Regions from separate parts of the Homo sapiens genome. Here region 2 is linked to region 1. Evidence: promoter capture Hi-C in 16 types of primary human blood cells and fetal thymus (Javierre and others, 2016). All regions are on one chromosome and are shown on one strand. The core of a region is centred on a gene start or on the middle of the fragment in contact, and the rest is flanking DNA. Distances in the headings are between cores, read along the strand shown. Region 1 holds the start of PHEX (phosphate regulating endopeptidase X-linked). Region 2 overlaps PHEX (phosphate regulating endopeptidase X-linked).

The links. The method cuts DNA at HindIII sites, captures the fragments that hold promoters and counts their contacts. A CHiCAGO score of 5 or more calls a contact.
Region 2: a contact is called between a fragment that was not itself captured here and the fragment with the promoter of PHEX in region 1, in 1 of 17 cell types (neutrophils). The highest score is 5.9, in neutrophils.

The regions. Positions count from the first base shown.
Region 1 is chrX:22,030,989-22,033,920 of GRCh38, reverse strand. PHEX (phosphate regulating endopeptidase X-linked) reads right to left here and starts at 1,596. Exons shown (of 22, transcript NM_000444.6): 1 at 798-1,596. The coding sequence starts at 915. The HindIII fragment of the contact is 6,886 bases long and covers 1-2,932 here.
Region 2 is chrX:22,185,542-22,188,536 of GRCh38, reverse strand. The region is part of intron 14 of PHEX (phosphate regulating endopeptidase X-linked); the gene reads right to left. Among named protein-coding and RNA genes, the nearest start is that of PHEX-AS1, 14 kb to the right of the region's middle. The HindIII fragment of the contact is 807 bases long and covers 980-1,786 here.

The sequences.
Region 1 (2,932 bases), core at 347-2,846:
AACGTTCAAGTTAATGAAGTATTATGGGTTGTATGAGAAAAATTAAAACGGTAATAGTCAAGGGTTCAGAAAGCCTAGAATTTTAGAAAATCCCTCACTCCTTTCCAAGATATTTGATTCTTTTTCATGGGAATACACTTCTATCATCCTATATACTCTCTGGGTACATCATTCTCACCAACAGTCATTAAAATAACTGAATCACAATATCTTTCAAATCTTGGGGGAAAACCTCTGTTTTCCTTCATATTAATTTGTAAATCAAATTGCATCTCACCAGAGTCACTGGATAAGAAAGGAATTGAAGAATATCATTAAAAGCACACTTTAAAGGACTGATTTGTGTTTTGTGAATTAAATTTCATGATTCGTTCAAGCAAACATTAATAAAAGTCAAATGGAAAGACACTCCAGCATGGTTTTCATCACAATGTAAAGTCTTTCCTCAAAATATAAATGAAACTATGTGACTATGAATTCACAAACACTCATTTTGCTAAATGTACCACATAAAAAATTTTCCACCCAATGCAACAGAATCAGCCAGCCACTCGAAGCCACTTACACCCACTTTGCCTTCTGGACTATACATTTGGTACTTGGGTGTATTTATTTATTTAGGCTCCTTAAAAAAGCCTTCTTTATCATTTGCATATTTGATAGAAACTAAAGATACACCACCTATGAACGCAGGCAAACAGCCCTATACCTGTGTTATGACAAGTTTTGCTACAATAAAGCACAAGGAAACTTCTCGACACACACCCAGTTCCCCCGGCCTCCTGCACTCCACTTACCTAGAAAGAGGATCGTGCCCAGAACTAGGGTGCCACCGACAAACACGACCAGGGCAATTCGAGTGCCTCTGTTGGCCTTCTTTCCAGTCTCCACGCTGCTCCCTGTTTCTGCTTCCATCAGAAGGGCCGTAGAGAGCACACGAGAAGAAAGTCACTTTTCGTGGTTTGGTGGCTGGTCTCAAGAGCGAGGCGTTGACATCCAAGGCTTTCTTGCTCTTCTACTAATGGACAGCTTAAGAAACTGCCGTCAGGAAATCTCCCCTCGCCACCCTTTCTCAAATAATTCTTCACAAATGAAAATTATAAAAACCAAAATATTGGTTGCCTTGGCTTTCCCCCTGACTAGACAAAACAAACAGTGTTGCTTTATCTTGGTGCTCTCCCTCAGCAAAGTCCCTGTTTGGCAGGCTCTTCTCTCAAGCGTTCCGAGTATATATGTTTTACTATGTTGCTGAACAGATGTTTTAGCTATTTAAATGTATAGTCACTTGGGGAGGAAAAAAACAATTGTTTTATCAAAACTGGATTCTCGTGAAACTCCCCCAAATCATGATAAGTTAGGTGGCCAGGATTCACCGGACCCACTTCAAGATCTCAATTAATCATGTAATTCTGTTGCAAGAATCATTCTGCTTGCCTGAATTGTCTTCATCAAAGATATTCTTTCAGTGTGTGAGTCCCTTTTTAAAGCCTTCTAAGAGTTCCTAGGATATCCTGGAGCATTTTATTTCAGGAACTTTGTGTATGATAGCATGTGCCAAAAATCAGTCATAGTCCAGTGCAGTGCAAAGTAGCAATTAAGACAACCTACAGAGGCTGATGGTTTGAACTGGAACTTTTTCTTAAAGGAAGGAGAAAAAGCACTTCCTCTTTGTGGTACTAAGAAGTGTACAAAAAAAAAAACCCACAAAAAAACACAAGTGCGTGAATTAAGTTTATTAGCAACTACAAAAGATATGATGAAAAATTTTTTCCTTGTGTGTTTTTGATGAAAAGTGCACCATGTGTTTTGTCTGCCACTCCTACTGAGGCAGCCATTCATTAGGATGTTTTTGTGTTTACATAAACTGTCCACTTCAGCAGATTCCCCAGGATGAATTCAAAGGCAATTGGTTTCAGGCCGGGCGTAGTGGCCCACGCCTGTAATCCCAGCACTTTGGGAGGCTGAGGCAGGGGGCTCGCTTGAGGCCAGGAGTTCGAGACCAGCCTGGCCAACAAGGCGAAACCTTGTTTGTACTAAAAACACAAAAATTAGCCGGGCATGTTGGTGAGCACCTGTATTCCCAGCTACTCAGGAGGCAGAGGTGGGAGAATCGCTTGAGCCTGGGAGGTGGAGGTTGCAGTGAGCCAGATCGCGCCACTGCACTCTAACCTGGGTGACAGAGAGAGAGACCCTGTCTCAAAAATAAACAAACAAAAAACAAAGGCAGTTGACTTCACTGGAAAGACTGATGAATGACTGGGTCTTTGATATTTTTGATTATGATAATGATTTAAACGATAACAATGTGCTTTCTTCATGGGGAAGGGCAACTGATATTCCAATGCTACCACTGAAATGATATAGATTTTATTATCCAAAGATATAGATATCGTTAACTCACAACACAATTACTACCTACCTGCTTTTGTTTTGCTGGAGGTCATAGGGCAGTGGGAGTGGGGGTGGAGAATTCAACTATATCTAGAAACCAGTAGAGCAATTATCTCAATGCAAAACTTGTGCGCATGGCTTTAGAGGTGACACAGGAGCTCAGCAGGTGCTGATGAGCTCAGTATAACATGGCCACACATTCATGGTCCTGTCTGGCTTGTCTTGGTCAGGGCTTAAGCCCTTAGCATGGGATTCTCTCAAGTTTTGGGGCTTATTCCATAATATACCTTACTTTCTGCTCATTTCATGTTGCGCCAAAGTCAGGGGGTCACAAGCCTTTGTCCAAGTTATGACATCATGGTGTGTTGTAGTTATCCTGTGCTCATTGGCTGTTGACATTATTTTGTTGCTGTTATTCCATAACACACCCTAGCAGGACTTTGGCCCCTAGTATGGGATTCTCCCAAGAGTTTTTGGACCTCACTCTAGAACACATCTTAGACCATGAGTTCCACAAAGTCAGGAACCATGTTCAATGTTG
Region 2 (2,995 bases), core at 134-2,633, 150 kb before region 1:
AAAAATTATTCTTAGCTCATGGGCCACACAAAAACAGGCAGCAGGTGAGATTTGGCCCACAGGCCATAGTGGCCAAACCCTGACTTAGATGGTTGTGAGTTTCAGTGACTGCTTGTTATGATTAAAACCAAGCAATTCATCTTAAGCAAAATTGCTAAAAATAAACTCCTAGGCCCAGCAGTGGCATGCAAATATAGTTCCAGCTACTTGGGAGGCTGAGGCAGGAGGACTGCCTGAGCCCAGAAGTTCCAGTCTCTAAAAAAATTAAAAAGAAAAAAAAAACTTGTATAAATCCCTTTCTAGAATAATTGTATTACTCATTTACGTCTAATAGGATAATTATGTCAGACTAACAAATTAATTTATATCAGGTTAATATGAAACTAATAGGAAACCCAATTATTGATACTAGTTGGTAAACTCATACCTTCTCCCCAGCTACAAAGAAGTCTATGAATATGTCATTCTGTTATCATTATCATTATATTTAGCTAACATTCATTGAGCACTTACTATGTCCTAAGCACCTTCTATTCATCAGTTTTTCCCCATGGCAACATAGGAATTATTAGCCCATTTCACAGACGAGGATAATGAGATTTATGAGCATTATGTGCTTGTACGAGGCCTGGTCTGTCTGACTTCAAACCAGTTCGCCTAAGCATTATATTATACTGTAGACATTACTGGAAATCAAGAAAGAGCACCTCTTCTCTCTTCAAAACCGAAACCTAGACATATTTCCATAAAATGCATATTCTTTTCCTTCAAATTTAGGGTATTTCAATTAAGCCCTAGTGTTTAACATAAACTTGCTGGTTGGCCTACTTTCCTGAGGAAACAAGTGAAGGGGAAAGCACCTCTATTGACCTAACTTGGCTACCTGTAGTAGGTAAAATTATGGCCAAGTCCTAATCCCTGGATCCTATGAACATGTTACATTACATAGTAAGAAGGACTTTGCAGGTGTAATTAAGCTTAAGGACCTTAAAATAGAGAGATTATCCTGGATTATTCAGGTAGGCTCAATCTAATCACAAGCCCTTAAAAGCAGACAACCTTGTTTGGCTGGAATCAGAGAGATGCAACAGAGGAGGAAGTCGGAGAGGAGGAAGGGTAAGAAGGATTTGACACGCTGCTGGCTCTAAGATGTAGGGGCAATGGGCAAGGACTGCATAAATCCCTCTGAGAACAAAGAGTGGCTTCCAGGCGATAGCCAGCAAGGAAGTAAAGACCTTACCCCTACAATCAGAAAGAACTGGATTCTGCCAACAACTTGAATCCCCTTGGAAGGGGATTATTCCCAGAACCTCCCCATAAGAGCCCAGCCGGCTGACACTCTGATTTCAGCCTTATGAAATCCAAAGCAGAGAAAACAACCAAGCTACCCTAGACTTCTGAGCTAGAGAACTGTGAGATAATAAATCTGTGCTGTTTTAAGCTGCTTAGGTTGTAGGAGTTTGTTACAGTAGCAATAGGAAACTAATGCACTATCCAAAGAACCCAACATTTGTAGGTCAAGAGGGGAAAATCCAGGTGGGTGCCTTGGCTTCTAAATAACACTGGAATGAATCATAATACATACAAAAGATAACGTGTATTCCTAGAGCTTGTCCCTTCTCTTTTTGTTCTTCCCAACTCCCCTCTCTTTAAAATAACAAACTTTTAAAATATTCAGGTAAGGGCCATGCAGGGAAAATGTTCCTAACTGCTGGTAGACAAAGGTAGACAAAGCAAACCAAACAACCAGTCTCTGAAACTAGACCTTAATGGGGCTTCTGAAGCTTCAACAAGAATAACGAAAACATCTTATTTCAGACACATGATCTTACCATTCCTGACCTCCCAGGGCTCTTATTGACTCTAGGGCACGTATGGAGACTTGATAATACCCAGAGCTGATATTAAGCAGCTGCACCAGTAGATCCTACCAGTTGTTGATGCTGTTATTTCTTCTATTTGTTCAGGGCCCATGCCAAACCAGCTGTTAAACATTTTGTATATCTCCCGTATTACATCCAAGTTTATTATATATTTAGTTTTACTATTCTCTAATGTAAGGCTACATGTGCTAGTTTTAATATGTGTTTGTGAACTTTTTTACACTCCTCCCATTAAGAGATGGAATCTAAATTCCTCTCCCCTTGATTATGGGTTAGCCTTAGTGACTCACTTCTAAAGAATAATACGCAGCAGAAATGACAGTGTGACTTCCAAGGCTAGGTAATTAAAGGTGATACAACTTCCCCCTGATGCATACAAACACACCCTCCCTCCCTTCTTCTTTCTCAGAAAAGCTGCTCTTTGAACTTTCTATATCAATCAACATGCTGTAAGGAAACCCAACATACATGAAGAGGCCATATGTAGATGTTCTAGTCAACAGTCAGCATCAACCATTAGACATGTGAGAGAGGTAGCCTTCCATATGACTCTAGCCCCAGCCACTATCTGACTGTAACTACATGAAAGACCACAAATGGTCAGGTGCAGTGGCTCATGCCTGTAATCCCAGCACTTTGGGAGGCTGAGGTGGGCAGATCACCTGAAGTCAGGAGTTCGAAACCAGCCTGGCCAACATGGTGAAATGCTGTCTGTACTAAAACTACAAAAATTAGCTCAGCGTGGTGGCGGGCACCTGTAATCTCAGCTACTCAGGAGGCTGAGGCAGGAGAATCGCTTGAACCTGGGAGACGGAGGTTGCAGTGAGCCGAGATCACGCCAATGTACTCCAGCCTGGTGACAGAGTGAGACTCTGTGTCCAAAAAAAAAAAAAAAAACCACAAACGAGAACCATGCAGCTGAGCCTAGTGACCCCCAGAACCATGAGAGAGAAAAATAATGACTGTTGTTTCAGTACTCTAAATTTGGGGGAGGTTTATCACACAGCAATAGATAAATGGAATGCTGAAAAGTTGGCTATCCACAGACTAAGTCCAACCCAATGGGCTGAATCTTCCCAGAAAACTGTTTTGCTTGCCCAACACAATGGCTT